2 separate regions of the Homo sapiens genome follow, and region 2 is linked to region 1. Evidence: promoter capture Hi-C in 16 types of primary human blood cells and fetal thymus (Javierre and others, 2016). All regions are on one chromosome and are shown on one strand. Each heading gives the region's core, a stretch centred on a gene start or on the middle of the fragment in contact. The rest is flanking DNA. Distances are from core to core; before and after follow the strand shown. Region 1 holds the start of NKX2-8 (NK2 homeobox 8). Region 2 overlaps LINC00609 (long intergenic non-protein coding RNA 609).

Region 1 (6,620 bases), core at 2,398-4,897:
GGAAAATCCAAGCACCCAGCCAGATGACCAGAGGCAGTCCCAACACTGGCCTTCTTCAGAAATCATTACCTCCTTTTCTTTCACATCTGCTGTGCCAGAGCTAACTGGGAAGCCCCCTGGCAGGTCCCAATATCTGTCTTACAATGTTCAAGCTCCCTCCCCAGCAATCATTTATTAGAAAGGGGTTTTATGATACAAATTTGATAATCTCCCATGCACACTGGCACTGTTCTAATTGAAGTTGTAAGCCCATAAAATTCAAGCCCTTTGTCTTCCTGAAGGCCACAAGGTTTAAAAAGATACTATTGTCCTGCCTAACACCCACTACATTGTCACCAGGGACTGATTAAACAGAGTCCTGAATCCAAACAGTGCGGATTTTGTCTAGGTCCTTTTCAGGCCTGACAATGCCCTTTTCAGTTCCCAAGACAAAAAGAGGTTTAAGGATCGAGATTCTTCTAAGATAACCGCATCCATATGGAAGGCAAGGTGGCCGGCAGCTGAGACCCAAACACCCCACTCCCTTCCCCCTCTCCCCTTCTCTCTTTCTCTCTCCACCCCCCAAAATCCCAGGTGATAACACTGCCTCAGCCACCCTTCATCCTCCCCTTCTTCCTCCTTGGACAAGAAAGCTAGAGCCCCTAACAGGCCCATGACTCCTCCTTAGAGACCTCCATAAGGGCCCTTGGCTCCCTTCCCCGCACCTGATGCCCCAACTGCTCTCCTCTGGCGCATCTCCCAGCAGCGGGTGCCTGGGAGCGAGGTCGTCGCTTCTGTGAGAAAGTGACTGCTTGCACAAGAGGCCCTAGCGGGGCAGTTACAAATCCAAGGGGTGCTAGTGTGCACTGGCCGGGGTGGACCTGCCCCAATCTCGGATTCCCAAGGCTCCCCCAGGCGGCCCTCCCTCAGCTGGGAGTCGCGTCCTCCCGGATCTGCCCAGAGGAAAAGCCCTGTGCCGGTCGTTCCCCCGACCCTTTGATGTCTTCACGTCCTCCTCCCCACCCTGGCCAGGTACTGCGCCATGAGGAGACAGGAAATCACAGCTAACTTAGGCACTTGCAGGCTTAAATAGGGGTTACAAATTCCCCGGTGCTCTTCAGGTCCCCAGGCACTTTTCAAAGGGTCCCCGAGCACTTGGCTCCTGCACTCTGGAAACAGCTTGCGGCCCGGCCTGGGCTGCTCCGGTGCAGCGCGCCCCGCACCTGGCCTCGCCGGCTCATCTCCGGAGAAACTCCTTCTGCCCTGTCGTGGTCCACAGGGTTGACTTTTCGGTATTCGAAACGCCAGCAGCTCTGGGAGCCCAGCGGAGAGTCGGAGTCACTCTGGGGCCAGTGACGCCTCCCGCTGACAAGAATCCCAAAGTTGCCTCAGCTTCCTCCTCTCCTTTTCTTCCCGCGCCCAACCCTGACATCACCACCCCTCCATCCCCCAGGTATCTTCCTAAAGCCGTGTCGGGACTGCAACCCGCCCTTCGATCCAGCTGGGGCCGGGCCCCACTTAGCCAGTCAAGGGGCGAGCCAGCGATGCGAACACCGGTCTGGGGGGCACGACTCCCGCCTACGTTCCCCGCAGGCGCGCAGGGGACCCAACCCCACACATTTTATTCTCGAACTACGAGGAAAAATACTCTATTTTTTAAAAAAATAACTTGCTTCCTATACAAATCGCTATTTAAAAATATACAAATAAGGCCCAAGCATAAAATCTAACTCTGGGGCTGGCGGTGGAGGGAAGGTGAGGGAGGGGGCTCTGGCACACGTCCCTCGTGTGTGCTTGCGCGACGGCTGATGAGGGCGCGCCAGGGACCCTGGCGCCCAAGGAGATGGGGCTGCAGGGAGGCGGACGGAGAGCGTTCCAGGCGTTCGGCTCCGGCCCTGCTCCAATCGCAGAGCGCGCTCCAAAGTCGAGGGTAGCCCCAGGTGCCGCCCTGCGGCCTCACCAGTTCCAGGAGACCAGGGCGGGGGATGCTAAGTGCTGGTAGGCGGGGAAGAGGCCAAGCGCCGAGCCGGGACCGAAGGCAGGGTAGCCCGGCAGAGGGCAGGCGGCGGCTGGAGGGGCGCCGCACTTCTCCTGGGCCGCGGCGGTTCCCACCTCGCCACCGCCGCCGCCGCCGCACGGCTGCCCGTCGCGAACAAGCACCGGCACCACCACGCGACGCAGCAGGCCGGGCGCGGCGTGCAGCTCGGCGGATGCTGCCAGGTCAGGCGACTCCGCCGCCCCTGGAGCGCGAGCGCGCTTCAGCTTGTAGCGATGATTCTGGAACCAGATCTTGACCTGCGTGGGCGTGAGGCGAAGCAGGCTCGCCAGCTGCTCGCGCTCGGGCGCAGACAGGTACCGCTGCTGCCGGAAGCGCCGCTCCAACTCCAGCGTCTGCGCCTTGGAGAATAGCACCCGCCGCTTCTTCCTTTTCTCGGCGTCCGAGCCCGGAGACGCGGGCCTAGCGGACGGCCGCTGCGACGAGTCTGGCGGGCTGGTCTCCAGGCTGCTCTCGTCCGAGGCTAGGGACAGCAAAGGAGACACGGGTGGGTGAGACGCCGGACCCTACGAGGGCCTGCTGCCCTTCTGGCGCGGGCGTGGAGGCACTGGCCAGAGGGCACGCCCACTAGCCCGAGACTTTCGGGATGAGGCCATTTCCTGAGTCCACATCTGGACATCCACCTCTCCGAATGCGGTGACCTCATTCATACCACAGCGGTCATCAGCGGGCCTGAGATCGTGCCCCGAAAAAACCCACCCCGGGGCCCTCTTAACATGTCCGCACCGGTAGTTGCGCTGGCCGACCAGTTTATCACAAGCTGGGTCACCAGCGCCGGCCTCCTCCAGGTCGACTGCACTGCAGTGTGCCGAGGTTTGCGGAGCCCTGAGTGGGAACGGGGTGGGGGTAAACTCGCCAACACTGGCCATCCCAGACGGAGGCCTGGAGATCGTGGCCGTGTTTTCAGGCATGGAGAGGGGGCGGGGGGTGGGGTGGGGGCGGCAGGTGGCGGCGCGTTTTAAATTTCAATTATTCCGACCTCTAGAAATCGTCAGACACAGAAACCCCAAATCTCGGAGCACCAGTGCCAGGCAGGGATCTGCTCTTAGGATGTGCCGACCGGGATGAATGCGTTAGGGGTTCGAGGACAGGGCTCCCGTTTCCAAGACTGAGGAAATCTAGACTCTGGGCTGGGATTTCGGCTTTCCGGCCCCTCGTGGGCTGGGCCCTTGATTCTGCTGCCCCACGCCTCCTACCTCCCACCCCGCACCGCAATCCACCACGCACTTACAAGGGTAGTGGCCGCGCTCCGAATCCAGCCAGGCGGCGCAGGGGTCGGGCTGGGGGGCGCGTGGTTCTGGCTCCCGCCTCGGCAGGTGTTGCGCGTCCTGCTCGGGTAAATCTAGAAGGCTGCGCACGGTGAAGCTCAGGCGTCCAGAGGTGGCCATGGCCGAGGAGGGGAAGGAGGCGGGGGCAGGGCAGGCTGGGAACGGAGGGGCGGCCGGGACGCCGCTCCTACGGATGGGCGTGGGAGGCGCTCGCCATGCGCTGGCAGCCGGGATATTAGCGCATTTACAGCGGAATCTCTGTTTATATAAACAGCTCTTCCCACCCAGGCCGCTTTGAAAGCCGAGGTCCGGGTCTCCAGGGTGTTAAGTACCTGAATGAGCACTGGACCAGAGCCGGGGCGAGCCCGGAAGGTGCCACCTCCGCCCCCGCCCCGCCCCGCACCCCGCCCCGCACCCCGCCCCTTGGCGCCCAGTTACCTCCCAGAGGCTGCAGGAAGCAGCATTTGGCATTAGCGATTCTGTCTGATTAGCCCAAAGTGGGGACAGATAATGGGGATTGTTACCAGTGAATAACATCTTGGGTGGCGAGCGGTGGCCACCACCCGCCTGACCCAGCCCCAGCTTCCTCCTCCTCCTCCTGGGCTGACTTGAGGCCAGGCCCCGCGGGAGCGCCGGGAAGGGTGGGGGTGGCAGGGGTGGGTTTATTAGCACCCAGGAATTTATTCCCTGTTTGCTTTATTCTTCGAGCTTGTTTGCTGGAGTGGTAGTTTCCCGCAATTATCCAGAAAGTGATTTACAAAGCGGCGTTAAACTCTGGCGCGCTCCCTTTCTCTTTTTGGTTGGGCCCCTCTAAGATTCAGGATGACAAGTTTCAGGAGGGCGTAAAGATTAGCCTGGCCCTGCCAGCATTGGCCCAGGGGTTTCAACGGCCGCTGGGAGCCTCGGATCACACCATACATCCCCCTAACAGCCTCAGAGGTGCTGAGGAAGGGCTGGGACAACATTCGGAGCCCCAGCTCCACGTCTCCACAGGCCGGCAAAACAGAAGAGGCTTGTAGCCAAGCTACTTAGGTCTACAGTGCCTGTCTCTTTGGCCCAGCTTCGCCCGGCCGCTGCCGATCTCGGAGCTCGGAGGCCGAGCTCCACAAATTTGGGTCCAGGCCCGCTTTAGAGCCCCTGGGCGGGGGCGCTTCTCAGGGCATCCTGTGAGGGCTTTGAGGCCTCCTTGGAGTCGCCAGATGAACTGGTGCCGCCTGTGCGCCTTGGCCCCATAGCCTCAACGGCACTCTCACTGCCTGGGCTTTGGTCTTTGCCCAGGAGCCTGCCCATGGCCTACGCTCCCCGCTCGCAGCATGGCAGACCCTGACGAGGCTGCCCGCCTTGGTCCGGGAATGGACCGATCGGGAGAATTAGGACAGGGCCTACCCGGCAGAAAATACCACCGGCCATGGGTTTCTCTGGGATCTTCTAGTTTCCACAGTTCCACCCTAGAAAATGATCAATGTAGGAGGCGCAGGGAACAGGCCGCCGTGGATACATTTTGTTGGGCCATGGCCTAGCTCTGGCCGCGCTTCAATCTACAGAGGAACGCCCTCTCAGAGGCCTCTCCTACTGAAGCTAGTAGTTTGGATATTTAGTTGCTAAATTGTAGCGAAGGGCTCTGTACTTGGGTGGCTGCACCAGAAGTCCTGGCTCCTCCCGGGCTGAACTCGAACCTGGCTCGGATGCGGCGGCGGCGGCCCTGTCAAGCCCCGCGCACCCTCCCCAGCAGCCTCCCTATCAAGCGTGCCCGAGGTGCCCGGAGCTGCACCGCGCGCTGGGTGGTCGGGCGGAGGCAACCCCAATACAGGCCAACTGCTAGGCCGCGGACAAAGGGGAAATGGAGCTCGACGCCCCGGACCTGTTGGAAGCATTTGTTCCAGTCAAGATTTTGCATTTGTTCAGTCCGGAATAATGCATGATTGACGTCTGCTCACAATGCGCTTTAACGCGCCGGGATAAATCGGAGCTTGTCCGGTGTTGTCATGGTTTTCAATGGGGTTCAATGGGATTGGGAGCACGATCGACTCTGCTGGCCGTCTTTCCGCGGCCCTGGCAATAGATTTATTAGTTATGTCTTTTTAAATAAGATTAAACTGAAATGACTTGGCTGTCCTCTCTGCAGACGGGGCCGGGGCGGGAGCCTGGAGTGGGCAGGGGACAGCGGAGTCTGGAAACCCGCCGCGCACCGCTCCTCAGCTCCCGAGCCCCCAGCGTCTAGAGAGTGGGCAGGTCGCAGACTGGCTCCAGGCCTCGTGGACTTATCTCTGGCCAGAGCCCGAGGCCTGGCAATCTCTGCCAGCCCACCTCCCTAGTGAGAAGCTGAGGCACTGACAAAGACCGTCCTGGGGAAGCAAGTGTTAAGACTGATTCCCAAATTCGGTCTTGAACTATGAGATTGTGTAAGGTAGAAGGAGCTCTGGCCTGGAAATCGGTTCGCATCCTCGCTCTGCCCCTACCTATCTCTAACCACCTCATTTCTCTAAGCTTCCTTCCTTCCTTTTTTTTTTTAAAATTAATCTGATACAGAAGATAGTAGGAGAATAGATTTGGTAATTTCTAAGGACCCTACCAGTTTTATGATTCTGTATCTCAGGAATTTTTCTAAACCTATCTTCATTGTAGCATTTACCAGCCGGATATTTAGACTCCCTCCTCCCTCAGGTTCTCGAATTCTTAGCCCCAGGACTGACTCCGTCTCCAGGATGTTCTAGGAGAGGAGGTGTCATCTTTTGAGTTTCCCAAGGATCCTCCACAGGAGTAGGGTGGGGTGGATAACAATTTAGGGAAGAGAACCAAGTCAGGAGAAGCAAAAGAAGAGTCTTTCCTTGAGTGACTGACCTCTCTTAGCCTTTTAATCTATTTAACATCCTAAGCCCACACTGACGTGTAGAAATAAGTAAATGGCGCTCTTCAGCTCTTAAGAGCTCTTCAGCATCAAATATTTGCTTTTACTCTTAGTGTTTGGCTTCCAAAGCAGAGATACAGGCCCCATCTAGCACTTGTGCTCTGGGAAGGACTTTGCTCTGGGATTCGCTCCAAATATTACTTCTAGCTTCATGTTCACGGGCTTCGGAAACAGTGTTCCTGGGCCTTGGTCTGCATTTTAGATGTCCCATGGAAACCCTGTAGCTCCTGGTTCTAGAAAGGGCTGCAGCTTACCTGCTTCATCTTGGATTCCCTCCTCCTCTGCCATAAGTGCCTCTGCCATAGGCCAACCTTCCTCTCAGCTCTGCTCCGCGGATTTAGCTGAATTATCTCTGAGAGCTAGAACCGGGGGACTCCAAGAAATTGTTCAATATAAACTGTGCCTTCTG
Region 2 (6,529 bases), core at 3,145-5,644, 490 kb before region 1:
AAACATTGCCTAACAAAAATAAGACATTCTTCTTAGACTGCTTTGTTTCTAGAGCCTCTGCCTCTGATATAATCTGTTGCCTCTAGATCCATGTGTTGACCAGACATACAGGAGTTAGTGCTGTAAACCAGCAGTGAACTCTTGTCAGAGATGGAACTTTGGGTTAGGCAACTTTCTTGTTTTAAAAACATGTCTTTATATATTTATTAGATATAGGAGGCCTCTCCAAAGGCAATAATCTGGTTATTTGAATGTTAAATGAAAGAGAAAGGAAGAGATTATATTGCTTGTAAGTATCAATAGTTTAAAAATAAGAAAACATAAATAGTTTGTATAGGAAACCTTGGAGTGTTTGAGATATCCCAAAACTCAACACCATCTACACTCACGAATGCTTTGGTTTAAAATATTTATTCTGGTGTGTTATTTAGCACAGTGGTAAAACCTCTGGCTCTGGGCTCAGTTAGAGTTGAGTTCAAATCTATCCTGTGATCTTGAGCCACCAAGATCTTCTTTCTCCATACCTGAGTTTCTTTACTGGTAAAATGGGTACTGGAGTAATAATAGTACATTATAGCGTTTTCTTTCTTTCTTCTTCTTTTTTTTTTTTTTTTTTTGAGACATAGTCTTGCTCTGTCGCCCAGGCTGGAGTGCAGTGGCACGATCTTGGCTTGCTGTAACCTCTACCTCCTGGGTTCAAGTGATTCTCCTGCCTCAGCCTCCTGAGTAGCTGGGATTACAGGCTCCTGCCACCATGCTCAGCTAACTTTTTGTATTTTTAGTGGAGATGGGGTTTCACCACGTTGGCCATGCTGGTCTTGAACTCTTGACCTCAGGTGATTCGCCTGCCTCAGCCTCCCAATGTGCTGGGATTACAGGCCTGAGCCACCGTGCCTGGCCTCTAATAGGGTTTTGAGAAGTGAGATGAAGCATGTGAAGTGCTTACCGTAGAATATGGTAAATGCTCAACAAATGTCAGGGATGATTTTCTGCTTTTCTTTGCTCAGATATTCTGTGAAGGGCAGCATTCACAGTATTTTTCTGTGGATGATTTCAAATCTCAGACTCACTGGGGTTCCATAGAAATATTCTTTTATGATGTGGCAGTATACCTTTGTGGTTGGGCCCAAACATCTTCCACTAATCTCTACCTGTGTACCTTGGGTCGAGTTAGTTAACCTTTCTGTGCCTTGATTTTCTCATTTGTAAAATGGAGGTCATAATAGTACCTACCTCATAGGGTTCTTATAAAGACTGACTAAGATATGTGAAAGTTCTTGTGACCATTAAAAGGTAGGTAAAGTGCTTAGTTTGACACACAATAAATGTTCAACAAATGTGACAATATTAATTTTAAGGCTTAAAATTGTTAGTTGTTTTTTTTTTAGTGAATTGGTAAATTTAGTGAATTTGGGTGTCTAGTACCACATTTTGAATATAGTTCAATTCCTCATTTTAAGAACAGTTCTTTCAGTACCCCGTGGTCTTCGAAGCAGTTTCTCAACTACAGGGTGCACTATCACGAATAAATGACAGAAAGAAGCACCATGCTGATAATCTAACGTTCTAAATTACTGTTAAGTACTTAGTTCTAACACCCACCCTCAGGTTTGTTATAGTAGAAGCTAATTAATAAATATGGATGTTTTTATTTTCCCCTTTCTCCTTTTTAACTTCCTAATGAGGTAAACAGATGGCAGACAACTGGCACCAGAGGTGAAGAGAACTGGCAGTGCAATGGTTAACTTCCTTTCCTAAAGGACATGTGGGCTTTATCCTAGTGTCTCAACTCGTTACTTATAGTGTTGATGGAGAGGCCTGAAGAAAAGGATCCCAGGGAGAGAGCAGGTGTGTTGGGCTGCTGTGGTTCTCCCTCAAAACTAGCTGTAGACACAATACAGGTGACCTGGCAACACTCAGAAGTACCAGCCTTTGAGATGCTGGGAATCCACATAACCTTGTGAATGCTTTGAAGGCAGGAGGGTATCTTACTAGATTTGGTTTCTCTGGCATCTAAGTAACCCTGGCATATAGTAGGTGCTTAATAGCTTTTTGCTGATCGGATACCTGGAAGTAAAACATACATCTTTATAATTTTGTATTAGATTTGATTTTATTTAGACGTTGCCAGTGCTGGGAGATTATACTCTGCTACTTGATACTCAACAATTTTGTAAAGGTTTATATTTACTAAAGAAACTTTCTATTTAAAGAAATCTGTGAAAATCCTTTTGTAAAAATTGATTAATTTTTAATACTGTATGCTTTGTAAATTTCTGTCTCTGTGAATAAAGAAGCACGAATCTAAAATAAACTGTTACCGAACAGGCATAATAGCCAGGAGAATCTGAAGTAGCCCCTTCTTTCATTTAAAATGTAGATCTGTCTTACTCCTTGCTTTCTTCTTTCGGGGCTGCCTGCCACTAAATGTTAAATGGTAACATCTCTACTGGCAATTGAAGAAAATAGACCTGAAGGCACTATAGACTCTTTAGAATGAAAGTATTTTATTTCACCATTCTCTTGTTATTTAAAGGTGTAAGGCTTAATTTCCATAGAGCCTATTCCTAAGTAAGATTTTAAGGCATCCCCTTGGGGCAGAGGTGAAAGGGGTGGGAGAGATAGGGGAGATAGGGTGAAATTTGGGGGTTTCTTTCAGAAGTTGTGCATAGGGGGCTCTCAGAGCGGCTGTCCCCTGGCTCTGCTCCTATTGGCTGTGGAAAGTGGGGTGGGGTTAGCCATTTCTGCAGTTGCTGCTGGGGCAAGGCAGGGACCTCTGAAAGAACCAGACACAACCTCCCTGATGTGGATCACTCTGTGTGTTCTCCAAGAGCGCACTCTGGCCCACGGCTTGACTTGCCTTTATTTTTCAACAAAAGGAGGAAAGTGAATTCCTTCTAGAGCTTGTTTAGGTGCTCCTTGGCTCCTTGGTGCTGGGCTCTGGCAGGATACAGCCACTGAAGTGTAGTGCATTTTAAAAAACTCTTTCTGGGAAATGAAAACATGATTTTGAAGTAGTCTGTAGTATTGAAATGCAGCACTCTGCTTCTTTGCGAAGCAAGACTTACTGGAGGCTCACTGGTACAGAAGGGCCCTCAAGGCAAAGAGGCTCAGAAACAGCAGGAATGGGATCTTGAGAAAGGTACCGCTCATCCTATGAAACAAATTGCTCTAATTAAAAAAAAAATGTGTCATGTTAGCAAGAGGAACTCAGCTGGCAATGTGACGGTGGAAGTAAGTTGTAAAAAGCCTCCATAGAAATATCTACTCTACCGACTTCATAATCTCTGCTGCTTTCTGAGGTGTGATGAAAAGGATCGGAAATTGTTGGCCGGTGGCCTCCAACACTTCTGGCCATTCCCTTCTCCCCTCACCCTCTTCTCCCAGGAAAAAGAATCTCTCTTTGAAAACATTTCCCTTTTATTTTCCTTTTCATCATCCTGTCTGAGTACATGGCTTCAATAGAGAAAGATGCTTTAAGACATTAACATTTTATCAACTTAAGGCTCTTTCAGCCATCGCCCACAAATCCCTATGGAATTTTGAACACTTAAGGTTAATTAGTTGTGCATTTGTTAAAAAGTCTGTGCCCTTAATAATAAAATAGGACCATCAAAGGGAAAAAAATAACATTTATTTAAATATATACAGTGTTTGAGATCACAAATTTCTATGTCTGCCTGGAAGCACTATCCTCTATTTTCATTAGTGTTTATATTCTTGCTTTTATTTGATTCTATTTGCATGAATTAAAATATTTTCTTTTATTTTGCCATTTGCTTTTAGAAATGCTAAAATTTAGCCAACTTTAATTGAATCATATTGTCTATTGGTATAGGAAATTCTCATTCTATTTCATAATAGAAGAGAAACACCAAAAGCAAAATGCTATATTGAAGCAAAATACAGTCTACCTGTTTGGGGATTATAAATCTCTGTAGGTTCTTAGAAGAATTATCCAAAATTCCCATAGAGACATAGTTTTTTTATGCCAGTGGTTCTCAAAGTTTAATGTACCTATGAATCACCAAAGGGATTTTTGTTAAAATGCAATTCTGATTCAGTAAGTCCTGGGCAGGGTCCAAGATGATACAGTTGTGACAAGCTCCCACATGCTGCTGATGGTTCTGGGATAGAGACACACTTTGTGGAACTAGCACCTACAGACATTTGCATTTTAGTTTCTTTGGTTTCAGCTGTATGCTTTCACTGGTTGGTGGAACTCAAAGCTTAGAAGAATTTAATAAAACTTACATTTTTGGTACTGACTTAGCAATGATAAGCTTTCTTTTCTTAAAGGAAGAGAAGCCGAGATTCACAGATGAGTTCTCAGCTGGCCCTGGGCCCTCACGTCCCTTCTATAGATGTCTAATGGGACTCTGGAGCTTCTCCTTTGTTCTCCTAGTCATGTAGAATTCAACTTTGCATTCTAGATATCAATTAGAGATGGGTGGTTTTTTTTTTTTAAAAAAAGTGTACTCCTATTTTAAGATATTTCCTTATCATGAAGCTTTTACCAAGAGCCCTGAAGAATATTCAATAAATCGAAGGCCTTAGAGATAAGCGTTTCTCTGTATATTTTTGGCTTATTATAATATAGAAATAAATATTTCAGCTAAATAATGATAAAATAATCTTTTTTAAACATTAGCTCTTTAAATGTTGTCTCTCCCATTAGACTATTAATTCCTTGAAGGCAGGGTCTATGTGTTAGGTTGTTCTTGCATTGTTGTGAAGAACTACCTGACACTGGGTAATTTATAAAGAAAAGAGGTTTAATTAGCTTACAGTTTTGCAGGCTGTACAAGCATGGCGCCAACACTGCTTGGCTTCTCGGGAGGCCTCAGGGAGCTTTTACTCATGGTGGAAGGCAAAGTGGGAGCAAGCACTTCACATGGTGAAAATAGGAGCAAGTGACAGAGAGAAAGAGAGCAAAAGGCGATGGGGTGTGGGGAGGAGCCACACGCTTTTAAATGATCAGATCTCGCGAGAACTCACTATCATGAAGATGGCACCAAGCCATGAGGGATCCATCCCTGTGATCTGAACAGCTCCCACCAGGCCCCACCTCTAGAATCGGAGATTACAATCTAACATGAGATTAGGGCAGGGACAACTATCTAAACTATATCAGTCTATGTATGTTTCACCTATGTACAGTTGTATAACTGTAGTTGCCAACAGGTTTTAGACAGAGCTGGCAAACCATAAATACTGGATAAATGGAATTCAAGTATCAAGTTGACATCAAGTCTGTCACACAGAAAGATCTCTGAAAATGACAATGGCCATTCATGGAGAAGGCTAGGGTTCTTTTTCTTCTTAGGACTTGCGGTTCCTCAGACATGTGTAGGCCTGCCTTTGACTCTGTGTTGCTCTCTGAATCTTAATTTTCCCACTTTTAAAATGGAGGTGAAACATCTGTCATGGGTAAGGAATGGTAAGAGTGAGCTACAGGTGTGGCTGTTTAGTGACTTTCCCAGTGTGCTTTGCTGGAAATAAAGAGACAAATGGCATATACAAAACATCCTTGGTAGGAGCCAGCCTTCCTCCCCACCAGGCAGAGACTATGTTCAATGTTCATTACACTGTGTTTTACTCACCATGCAGAAAGATAAATTTTTTTTAATTTTTTATTTTTTTGAGACAGAGTCTTGCTCTGTCACCCAGACTGGAGCGCAGTGGATCGATCTCAGCTCACTGCAACCTCTGCCTCCTGGGTTCAAGCGATTCTCCTGCCTTAGCCTCTCCAGTAGCTGGGATTACAGGCATGTGCCAGCACACCCCTAATTTTTATATTTTTAGTAGAGATGGGGTTTCATCACGTTGGCCAGGCTGGTCTCGAACTCCTCACCTCAGATGATCCACCCACCTCGGCCTCCCAAAGTGCTGGGATTACAGGTGTGAGCCACCACACCTGGCCCATAAGATTACATTTTTTAACCTTCCTTGTAGGTGGGTAGGGCTGGAATGATATGATTTGGAAAATGAAATGTAGGTTAAAATGATGATATAATTTCCAGACTTGATCCTTAAACACATCTTGCATTGGCTGAGTATAGTGGCTCATGTCTGTAATCCCAGCACTTTAGGAGGCCGAGGTGGGTGGATCACCTGAGGTCAGGAGTTCAAGACCAGCCTGGCCAACATGGTGAAATCCCTTCTGTACTAAAAATGCAAAAATTAGCAGGCGTGCTGGCACGTGCCTGTAATCACAGCTACTCGGGAGGCTGAGGCAGGAGAATTGCTTGAACCCGGGAGGCGGAGGTTGTAGTGAGCAGGGATCGCACCACTGCACTCCAGCCTGGAAGACAGAGCAAGACTCCATCTCAAAAACAAACAAACAAACAAACACCATCCTGCATCAACTGCTAGCCTTCTCTTCCCATTTTCTGGTAGCATTGGAAGCCACATGCTCCAGATGGTGTAGTCACAAGATGAAAGCTGTTTAGGTCCCTGAGCTTGGAGGATAGTCACCCAAGAGAGCCACATAACCCATATGGGACTGTACTGTGAAAGAGCAAAAAAA

Evidence for each region. Contacts are between HindIII fragments. The CHiCAGO score rates a contact against its expected background, and 5 or more counts as called.
Region 2: a contact is called between a fragment that was not itself captured here and the fragment with the promoter of NKX2-8 in region 1, in 3 of 17 cell types (M1 macrophages, megakaryocytes and M0 macrophages). The highest score is 7.6, in M1 macrophages.

What each region holds. Positions count from the first base shown.
Region 1 is chr14:36,578,967-36,585,586 of GRCh38, forward strand. NKX2-8 (NK2 homeobox 8) reads right to left here and starts at 3,648. Exons shown (of 2, transcript NM_014360.4): 1 at 3,267-3,648; 2 at 1,038-2,498. The coding sequence starts at 3,423. The coding sequence ends at 1,936. RefSeq lists enhancers at 1,418-2,228, 2,229-3,039. The HindIII fragment of the contact is 11,395 bases long and covers 1-5,788 here.
Region 2 is chr14:36,092,180-36,098,708 of GRCh38, forward strand. All of the region lies in intron 1 of LINC00609 (long intergenic non-protein coding RNA 609), which reads left to right. Among named protein-coding and RNA genes, the nearest start is that of LINC00609, 25 kb to the left of the region's middle. The HindIII fragment of the contact is 227 bases long and covers 4,282-4,508 here.